2 separate regions of the Homo sapiens genome follow, and region 1 is linked to region 2. Evidence: promoter capture Hi-C in human tissues and cell types (Jung and others, 2019). All regions are on one chromosome and are shown on one strand. Each heading gives the region's core, a stretch centred on a gene start or on the middle of the fragment in contact. The rest is flanking DNA. Distances are from core to core; before and after follow the strand shown. Region 1 overlaps TMOD3 (tropomodulin 3). Region 2 holds the start of LEO1 (LEO1 component of Paf1/RNA polymerase II complex).

Evidence for each region. Contacts are between HindIII fragments. The study calls those that stand out against the background at their distance.
Region 1: a contact is called between a fragment that was not itself captured here and the fragment with the promoter of LEO1 in region 2, in 1 of the 25 tissues and cell types used here (small bowel).

Annotation. Positions count from the first base shown.
Region 1 is chr15:51,913,008-51,918,625 of GRCh38, reverse strand. TMOD3 (tropomodulin 3) reads right to left here. Exons shown (of 10, transcript NM_014547.5): 10 at 2,901-5,618. Among named protein-coding and RNA genes, the nearest start is that of LEO1, 56 kb to the left of the region's middle. The HindIII fragment of the contact is 3,219 bases long and covers 59-3,277 here.
Region 2 is chr15:51,970,184-51,975,619 of GRCh38, reverse strand. LEO1 (LEO1 component of Paf1/RNA polymerase II complex) reads left to right here and starts at 3,842. Exons shown (of 12, transcript NM_138792.4): 1 at 3,842-3,932. The coding sequence starts at 3,875. It also overlaps a transcript of MAPK6 not described here. RefSeq lists enhancers at 3,573-4,148, 3,796-4,325, 4,149-4,725. The HindIII fragment of the contact is 14,890 bases long and covers 1-5,436 here.

The DNA of each region.
Region 1 (5,618 bases), core at 419-2,918, 55 kb after region 2:
AGATGTGGAAGCTGAGGTTTAAAGAGCTTAAGCCCTCTGTACAAAGCTTTTACTTAAGTAAACAAGTAAGCTTTTCTGAGACAAGGGTTAGGATCTTCCATGCACAGTGATCACAATGCTGGGCTAATACTTTAGTGACCTTATGGAGACAGATACCCAAAATATCTACCTGAGATAAACAGGCACCATTAGGTTTAGGGAAAAGGGCAATGGGAAACAAAATACCGGACTTGATTTCTAGTTTTGTGATTGCTACAATAGCTGGAATATAATAGAACCTAAAAACTATTTACTGAATGAACAAACAAATGCTGTTATGTTGGGCAGTCCCTTCTCTGACATCAGTTTCTTGAACTAGGTGGGCTTTAGATTTGACCACACAAATCCTTCAATTCAATGTTTATATTTCTCTACCTCTGAGAGTTGAATACTAGATAAATATTTTAAAATGTTTTGTTAAGTAGAAATGATCAAAGGGGAAAAAAAAGCCCATTTCACCATGCCGAAAACCCCACTTTACAATTCTATTTCCTTCCCTTTTATACTTTTACAGCATAATTTCGTGCTTGTATATTAAACACATTCATAATTAGCACTAGCTTCTAAAGGAGAATTGAAAGACTCATTCAGAACAATGAAGGGTACTAGCACAACTTAATTGTAACATCAGGTATTCTTTCTAAGGGGCTGGCCTTGAGGATCTGGTATGTCTGTGAACAGCACAGGAGCTGGGGGACTGGGTTGGGATCTACAAGCCCTCAACCTTTGCAGACCATGCAGGAAAGCTTAAAGTTGAAGGAAAAAAATGTTTGGAAATTTTGGACTCACAAATTTTCAAGCCACTCCCACTATTTGGTACCTATAAGAGCAGTGGTAGCACCAGGCTGAGCATTTTTAGTTGGACTGCTTTGGAGGACATGGTGAGGGCGCTGTTGCCTCACAGCCAGTCCCTGGCACTCAAGTCCTCTTGAACTCAGGGGAACAGCTCACAATTCAAGCACCTGAATCTCCCTGACTCACCAAAGGGAATATGCATTGAGGCTTCCTGTACATGAATGTGAAGCTCAACAGCCATTCTCAGAAGGCAGAACGACATTAAAGATTCCAGGTCAATTTCTTTATTCCCCTAAGTCAGGAAAACTCTGAAAACTTTAAATTATTTAACCTTTATCCTTAAGTTTCCTCAAACCCATTACACATTTCCCTGGTTTTCTCTTTTTTTTTTTTGAGACGGAGTCTCACCCTGTCACCTAGGCTGGAAGTACAGTGGCGCGATCTCAGCTCACTGCAACCTCTGCCTCCTGGGCTCAAGCGATTCTCCTGTCTCAGCCTCCTGAGTAGCTGGAATTATGGACACCCGCCAATGCACCTAATTTTTGTAGTTTTAGTAGAGACGGGGTTTCGCCATGTTGGCCAGGCTGGTCTTGAACTCCTGACCTCAGGTGATCCGCCCACCTTGGCCTCCCAAAGTGTTGGGATTACAGGTGTGAGCCTCTGAGCCCAGCCTTTTTTTTTTTTTTTTTTTTTTTTTTTTGAGAAGGAGTCTTGCTCTGTTGCCCAGGCTGGAGCACAGTGGTGATCTCAGTTCATTGTAGCCTCTGCCTCCCGGGTTCAAGCGATTCTCCTGCCTCAGCCTCCTGAGTACCTGGGATTACAGGCGTGTGCCATCACACCCGGCTAATTTTTGTATTTTTATTAGAGATGGGGTTTTGCCATGTTGGCCAGGCTAGTCTCAAATTCCTGACCTCAGGTGATCTGCCCACCTCAACCTACCAAAATGCTGTGATTACAGGTGTGAGCCATCATGCCTGACCTGGTTTTCTCTTTTGATTCATGGATATAGGTGATTGATAAGAGATGTCTTTGCTTTACTGTAAAAGCCATCTCTAGTTTATTAGAAGGACTGGTTCCCATCAGGTTCAGAGTGTACTGTATCACAGGACCCTGCTCTTTTCTTTTCTTTTTTTTTTTTTTTAAGACAGAGTCTCACTCTATTGCCCAGGCTGGAGTGCAGTGGCGCGATTTCAGCTCATTGCAACCTTCACCTCCTGGGTTCAAGTTATTCTCCTGCCTCAACCTCCTGAGTAGCTGGGACTACAGGCATGCACCACCATGCCTGCCTAATTTTTGTATTTTTAGTAGAGACAGAGTTTCACCATGTTGGCCAGGCTGGTCTTGAACTCCTCACCTCAGGTGATCCGCCTGCCTCGGCCTCCCAAAGTGCTGGGATTACAGGCGTGAGCCACCGCACCTGTCCGACCCTGCTCTTTGCGTATTTGTCAACTCAATTCAATTTTATGAACAGACAGGACCTAGTACTGATGATATTAGGTTGAACCTTAGGAAATTACTATTTTTATGAGTAAAAGTGTTCAACTATTATAACTAATTTTATATGATTCAACTTAATATGGTGGTATTTAGCCAGGTCAGATTGTCCTAACAAGATACCATAGACTGGGTGGCTTAAATAACAGAAATTTATTGCTTACGTTCCTAGAGGCTGGGACGTCCGAGATCATGGTTTGGTTCCTGGTGAGGGTTCCCTTCCTGGCTTGCAGACAGCTGCTGTTTTGCTGTATCTTCACATGATGGAGAGAGTCTCCTGTCTCTTTGTATAAGAACACAAATGCCATCATAAGGGGACCAACCTTGTGACCCTATCTAGCCTTAATTACCTTCCAAAGGCCCCATCTCCAAATACCATCACATTGGAGGTTAGGGCTTCAACATGTGAATTTGGGGTGGGGGGGCGGGTGTGGATACAAACATTCAGTCCATAACAGGTAGGACTGAATAACTCAGGGAAACTGATAAACTTTTTCTTGAAGAAGGATGTAAGGAATGAATTTTAGAACTTAGGAACTAAAGGGATTATGTGCTTTTTCAAAAAGTCCAAGTTTACAGAATATTTGATAAACTTTATTGAAACGATTTATCCCAGTATATATTGGTAAGTTCTAAATGCTTCCAGTACATAGTCTTCAAAAGAAACTTCACTGTGCTGTTATGAATTTGGATAATATTTTGTATTATTTAAATACCAGTGTTAAAATTCATTGCTTTTATACTTATAAAAATGGAAAAATAGGGCAATTACAATGTTGGATATTTTAGCATTAGAAAAAAACGTAAATACCTGATTTCATGTGACAATGAATGACATTCAAATGATTGTTAGAAAGGTAATTTTCAAGCTTTTAAATGTAACTAAAACCAAATATAATAATTCATCCAAAAAACTGAAAAAAAGACATTTGAAATTACAAAAATTTTTATGTTATACGTGTATATACATTTGAAAAAACAATTCTTAAATGGATTGATCTGAAAATTTGAAACCACTGAATCAAAAGCTTATCTTTCTGAGTAGAGGTGAAATTTAAACTTCTAAAAACTGCTATATACACCCACCAAGAAGCACCAATAATTCATTCTTAAACCTTACTTTCTGAATGTATAGACTATAATATTTGAAACATTTTAGGCCAATTAATTGCTTTGCATCAATTAAAACATACTGAGTGTAGAAAAGGGAGTAAAACCTCATATATATAGATTCTAAGAGGTGTCTGTCTTACGAATGTAATAATTTGGGCTGGGCGCGGTGGCAAACACCTGTAATCCCAGCACTTTGGGAGGCCGAGGCGGGTGGATTACGAGGTCAGGAGTTCGAGACCAGCCTGGCCAAGATGGTGAAACTCCGTCTCTACTGAAAATACAAAAATTAGTCAGGCGTGGTGGCGGGCACCTGTAGTCCCAGCTACCCAGGAGGCTGAGGCAGGAAAATCATCTGAACCCAGGAGGCGGAGGTTGCAGTGAGCTGAGATCGCACCATTGCGCTCCAGCCTGGGCGACAAGAGTGAACCTCCATCTTAAAAAAAAAAAAGAACTTAATAATTTGTTACAGCTATGTTAGCAAAACACTGCTGGTGGTATTTCTTAATACATATATTTTTTTGAGATGGAGTCTCACTCTGTCACCCAGGCTGGAGTGCAATGGCACAATCTCGGCTCACTGCAACTTCTGCCTCCCAGGTTCAAGTGATTCTCCTGCCTTAGGCTCCCAAGTAGCTAGAATTACAGGTGCGCATCACCACGCCCAACTAATTTTTTGTATTTTTAGTAGAGATGGGGTTTCACCATGTTGGCCAGACTGGTCTCGTACTCCTGACCTCAAGTGATCCGCCCACCTCAGCCTCCACAGTGCTGGGATTACAAGTGTGAGCCACTGCACCCGGCCATTACAATCTATTTTTATCTAGCCTCTAGAGCAGGTGTCCTAAGTAAAAGACAAAAACAACAACAAAAAAACCCATTTTTTTGTTTTGTTTTGTTTTTTGAGACAGTCTCACTCTTGTTACCCAGGCTGGAATGCAGTGGCATGATCAAAGCTCACTGCTGCTTCAACCTCCCAGGCTCAAGCAATTCTCCCACTTTAGACTCCTAAGTAGCTGGTACTATAGGTGTCTGGCTAATTTTTAAATTTTTTGTAAAGATGGGGTCTTGCTATGTTGTCCATGGTAGTCTCAAACTCCTGGTCTCAAGTAATCCTCCCTGCTTGGTCTCCCAAAGTACTATGAGTATAGCTCTTTTTTTTTTTTTTTTTTTGAGATAAGAGTTTCACTCTCATTGCCCAGGCTAGAGTACAGCAGCATGATCTCATCTTACTGCAACCTCCACCTCCTAGGCTCAAGCGGTTCTGCTGCCTCAGTCTTCCGAGTAGATGGGACTACAGGCATGCGCCACCGCACCCAGCTAATTTTTGTACTTTTTGTAGATATGGGGTTTCACCATGTTACGCAGGTTGGTCTCAAACTCCTGAGCTCAAGTGATCCGTCGGCCTCGGCTTTCCAAAGTGCTAGGATTACAGGCATAAGCCACAGTACTTGGCCAAAATTCTTTATGTGTTAATGAAGGCTTTCCAAAATACTTAGTTATGGCTTAAAATAGTTTACTTAGCCATGTCTTTTTTCTAGGTTGACCTTTCTGAATGATCAGACTGCAAGATAGAGTTTAAAATTAATAAAATATGTTTTATTATCAAATTTCTAATTCATTCATTTTTTATAGGGAAGAACTTATAGAACTGAATTATAGTGGAGAAAAATCAATACAGGTTGAGTATCCCTTATCCAACATGCTGGGACCATTAAGTGTTTCAGATTTCAAATTATTTTGGATTTTGGAATACTGGGCATTACACCAGTTCAGCATCCCTAATCTGAAAATCTGAAATTCTAAATGCTCCAATAAGCATTTCCTTTGAACACTATGTTAGTACTCAAAAAGTTTTCAATTAGGGATGTTCAATCTGTAGATCTAAGAATGACCAAATTAAAATATAAGAATAAGGCTGAGTGTGGTGGCTCAAGCCTGTAATCCCAGCACTTTGGGAGGCCGAGGCGAGTGGATCACCTGAGGTCACTTTGAGAACAGCCCGGCCAACATGGTGAAACCCCGTCTCTATTAAAAATACAAAAAGTTATCCGGGCGTGGTGGCGGACGCCTGTAATCCCAGCTACTTGGGAGGCTGAGGCAGGAGAATCACTTGAATCTGGGAGGTGGAAGCTGCAGTGAGCTGAGATCGCACCACTGCACTCCAGCCTGGATGACAG
Region 2 (5,436 bases), core at 2,593-5,092:
TAAGGTGTTACACAAATTTAAAAACATATATTCCTTTTTGTGTGATTTGGTGTAAGTATATATTTTATACTTTTTTTTTTTAGACGGAGTCTTGCTCTGTCTCCAGGCTTGAGTGCAGTGGCGCGATCTTGGCTCACTGCAACCTCCGCCTCCCGGATTCAAGCGATTCTCCTGCCTCAGCCTCCTGAGTAGCTGGGACTACAGGTGCATGCCACCCCACCCAGCTAATTTTTGTATTCTTAGTAGAGACGAGGTTTCACCATGTTGGCCAGGATGGTCTTGATCTCTTGACCTCGTGATCCACCTGCCTTGGCCTCCCAAAGTGCTGGGATTACAGGCGTGAGCCACCGCGCCCGGCCTGTTGAGTATTTTTTTGATTACCTTGTAAAAATGTTTGTGATGATACATTAATTGTATTGTGTTATGTACTCAACCTCATTGAATCTTTGTTCTTCGGGTTCTATGGTATCTAAAAAGATATTATTCTGAGGATCTAGCTTCACCTTATGAAAGCAGAACGTTCTTTCAAAAACTGAAAGAACGAAGATAAAGCCACTCTGAAGTTGTTTTATTTAATCACACACCTAATAGATGAAATTCTCAGGCCTGGTGCGGTGGCTGACGCCAGTAATCCCAGCATTTGGGAGGTTGAGGTGGATGGATCACCTGAGGTCAGGAATTCAAGACCAGCCTGGCCAACATGGTGAAACCCTGTCTTTACTAAAAATACAAAAATTAGCTGGGCATGGTGGTGCATGCCTATAGTCCCAGCTACTTGGGAGGCTGAGACAGGAGAATCACTTGAAGCCGGGAGGCGGAGGTTGCAGTGAGCCAAGGTCATGCCACGGCACTCCAGCCTGGGTGACAGAGCAAGACTCTGTCTTGCGGGGGGGGAAAAAAGAAATTCTCCATTCCTAGGAACAAATGTCAAGATCATCTTTTTTTTTTTTTTTTTTTTTTTGAGACGGAGTCTCGCTCTGTCTCCCAGGCTCGGGTGCAGTGGCGTGATCTCAGCTCACTGCAAGCTCCGCCTCCTGGGTTCATGCCATTCTCCTGCCTCAGCCTCCCCAGTAGCTGGGACTACAGGTGCCCGTCACCATGCCCTGCTAACTTTTTTTTAAATATTTTTAGTAGAGACGGGGTCACTGTGTTAGCCAGGATGGTCTCGATCTCCTGACCTTGTGATCCACCTGCCTCGGCCTCCCAAAGTGCTGGGATTACAGGGGTGAGCCACCGTGCCCGGCCTGTCAAGATCATCTTAACATTCAAAGTTAAATTAGTTGAACACAAACCAAATAGGATTAAATTCTCCATCTCTGGGGGTAAATGAAGTTATTTAGCACTGTAAACTTTAATCAAACTGGGTGTAGTGGCTTACACCTGTAATTCCAACACTTTTGGAGGCCAAGACACGAGGATCACTTGAGGCCAGGAATTCAAGACCAGTCTAGGCAACATAGTGAGACCTTGTTTCTATATATTTTTTTAAGTTTTTAAAAAAGTATTAAAAATAAAATAAACTTCAATCAAAGTGATAACCTCAGGTAAGAAATACTGCAAAATGATTGTGATTGATTTACCTTAAGTCCAATCTCATGTATTATATCCTTTATGAAGAAAGATAATGAGTAGAAGAGCAATGGTCAGCATAAAGTGTAACCAAAACAAGGCTGGGCACGGTGGCTCAGGCCTGTAATTCCATCACTTTGGGAGGCCAAGGCGGGTGGATCACCTGAGGTCAGGAGTTTGAGACCAGCCTGACTAACATGATGAAATCCCATCTCTACTAAAAATACAAAATTAACCGGATATGGTGGCGCATGCCTGTAATCCCAGCTACTCAGAAGGCTGAGGCAGGAGAATCACTCGAACCCGGGAGGTGGAGGTTGCAGTGAGCTGAGATCACGCCATTGTACTCCAGCCTGGGCAACAAGAGCGAAACTCTGTTTAAAAAAAAAAAGTGTAGCCAAAACATAAACAAAAAAATCTGTCCAAGAGTCAGAAGTGATTTGTTTTATACTATTCATATGGGAAAAACACGTTTATTCTGATAGCCAGGAATATGGACATGGTGACTCACCAGACCAAACTGTAATTCAATTTATTAAGATTTAGCCAGGCACTGTGGCCCATACTTGTAATCCCAACGTGTTAGGAGGCCGAGGCAGGAGGACCTCTTGAGGCCAGGAGTTTGAGGCTGCAGTGAGCTATGATGGCGCCACTGCGCTCCAGCCTAGGCAACAGAGACACTGTATCAAAAGAAAATAAATTTAATCAAAGTACTTTTCAGGGACAGTACTCTAAATGAAAATGAAACTGAATCACTGTCAAATGGAATACTTGTTTTTCCAGTATTCCAGATAGTTTTCAGGTTATCTATGTATCTTCTCTTGCAACATCCGCTTCATACACAAAAGCTCTAGGATTGATGATTACATACCCAGTCCCACCCATTTGGACCCTGTTAAGCACTGAAGTTTACTACAAAAATATATATCATATAATCTCCAAACTAAATATTCATTGTTGCTTGTCCAAGACCAAAACTCTCATAATGGCCTAATTAGGTAATGTAACACAGGATGTACTCTTTTCTCACTTTTTCTTCTAAGAAACAGAGCCTTACTCTGTCACTCAGGCTAGAGTGAAGTGGCGTGATCATAGCTCACTGCAGCCTCCAACTCCTGGGCTCAAGTGATCCTCCATTCTCAGTTTCCTGAGTAGCTAGGGCTACAAATGCATGCCATCATGCCTGGCTAATGTTTTTATTTTTAATTATTTTATTTTATTATTATTATTTTTTTGAGATGGAGTCTCGTGCCCAGGCTGGAGTGCAGTGGCGCGATCTCGGCTCACTGCAAGCTCCGCCTCCTGGGTTCACGCCATTCTCCTGCCTCATCCTCCCTAGTAGCTGGGACGACAGGCGCCCACAACCACGCCCGGCTAATTTTTTTTATTTTAGTAGAGACGGGGTTTCACCGTGTTAGCCAGGATGGTCTCGATCTCCTGACCTCGTGATCCACCCGCCTCGGCCTCCCAAAGTGCTGGGATTACAGGCGTGAGCGACCGCGCCCGGCCAAAAAAATGGTCATTTAAAGCTTAAAAAAGCTGTTTGTTAACATGTATATTATTTTTAAATGAATTAGTAACTTAAAAATTTATTACCGTATTAGTAAGAATACAGTAAATATCAATACCCGTACCTGTAATCCCAGCACTTTGGGAGGCCGAGGCGGGCGGATTGCCTGAGCTCCTGAGTTTGCGACCAGCCTGGGCAACACGGTGAAACCCCGTGTCTACTAAAATACAAAAAATTAGCCGGGTGTGGTGGCGGGCGCCTGTCGTCCCAGCTACTCGGGAGGCTGAGGAATTAGAATTGCTTGAACCCGGACAGTGGAGGTTGCTGTGAGCCGAGATCGCGCCACTGCACTCCAGCCTGGGCGACTGAGCGAGACTCCGTCTCAACAATTTTTAAGAGGGTAAAGGGGTTTGGGATGAAATAACTGGAGAACAGCTGCTCAGTAAGAAACAAAGGGCTTCAATCCTGACTCGCGATAGGTTTAATCCAGCCAGAGGCCCTTCCCCAGAGAGCGCCAGTCACCGCCCACCCCATCCACACCCGCAACCGAACGCAGGACCCCCCCGCCCCCTGGTAAGAATCCTGGCAAATAACAGATATTGACGAAATGGCCGGGCTTATATACCATGCATACCCAGGCGAGAACAGGTTCACTGGGCGAGCGAAAACTAGGTCACGTAAGGAAAGGAGTGTCTTCGGCGAATCTTTGCGACACTGTCGTGTTTCAGTGGTTCCGTGCCGTAAAGAGAGGCCGGGAGCTGCCCCTAACCGAGGCAGCAGCGGACGTGAGCGATAATGGCGGATATGGAGGATCTCTTCGGGAGCGACGCCGACAGCGAAGCTGAGCGTAAAGGTGGGTTCGCTGGTCTTCGGAGGATGGGTGCGTGGCAGGCCTTCCGCTGTGGGAGCCGGACAACCGTGGAGGCTCCAGCGCCGCGGGCAAGAGGTGGCGTTTCCTCCACTCCTGCCTCAGCGCCCCCTGCACTCCCGGAGGTGCCATCCTCCTCCGGCGGGCAGGATGGAGAGTCAGACAGTCTGCGCCTCGAGGCTCTGGGTGTCGGTGGAGCAGACGGTTCCTGGGAGCTTGTGGAGCGAAAGGGGCGCGGGGCATGGGTGGAAGTGCAGGCGAGCCTGCGCAGCGCGGGTAGGAACGTTGGAGTCCTGTTCCGCCTTGCCTTGCACAGGCCAGCGTAGAGTAAGGGCTGTTTTTGAATGAATGGAAATGAATGCAGGAATATGGGATGGGGTGGGCGAATTTACAGAGGGCCTCAGAATGCCGTCTTGAATGAAACCAGAGCATGGTGTGATAGGGAGCTTGAGATGTCTGGATGACGAGTCTGGGACGGATAATGGGATGGGGTTACAGATAGATGTTTCACATAGGAGAGAATGTGTTCTCTAAGAGCTTGTGCAGAAACTCCAGAATTTCCGGAGTCTGTGATGTTAGATTGGGGAGTGCATGGGGTCTGTGTACAGAGAGGAGGAATGAAGGATTTGTTGATGAAATGAATGAATTAGTGTATGTGCATGCTGCTTGGAAGTTATTTCTGGCACAGGATTGTGGGTGTTTTTTTAAAGTTTACTTTTTTAGAGACAGGGTCTCACTGTGTTGCTCAGGTTGGCCTTGAACTTCTGGGCTCAAGCCATCCTTCTGCCTCAGCCTCCAAGTAGTTGAGACTACGGGCACTTGAAATATGAATAGGAGCTATTTGAAGTGAGAACCCAAGACCAAGTTCAGAATTCTTGCAACCCTCTAGGCTCCAAGTAAAGTGAGTCTCTTGTAGACAACATATATCTAGTTGTTATTTTCATCACCCCCAAATAAAACACTGTTCATAAAGCACTTACTCCTCATATGCTCCTTCCTCCAACCCCTGTCTGCTATTGTTTCTGTACTTATCTGTTCTGGGAATTTCATATAAATTGAATCATGCATTGTGGTCTTTTGTGTCTGGTTTCTTTTACTTAGCATAATGTCTTCAAGGCATTGTAGCACATATCAGTACTTTATTCATTTTTAATGATTTAATAATATTCCATTGAATGTGCACACCCTAAATTTGTTAATCCATTTATCTGTTGATGGACATTGGGTTGTTTGAATAGTGCTACTGTAAACATTCCTGGTTCCGGCAGGCGGATTTGCCTGAGCTCAGGAGTTGAAGACCAGCCTGGGCAACATGGTGAAACCCTGTCTCTACTAAAAATACAAACTGTTAGCCAGGTGTGGTCGTGCGTGCCTGTAGTCCCAGGTACTCAGAAGGCTGAGGCATGAGAATCACTTGAACCCAGGAGACAGAGGTTGGCAGTGAGCTGAGATTGCATCACTTCACTTCAACCTGGGTGATAAAGTGAGA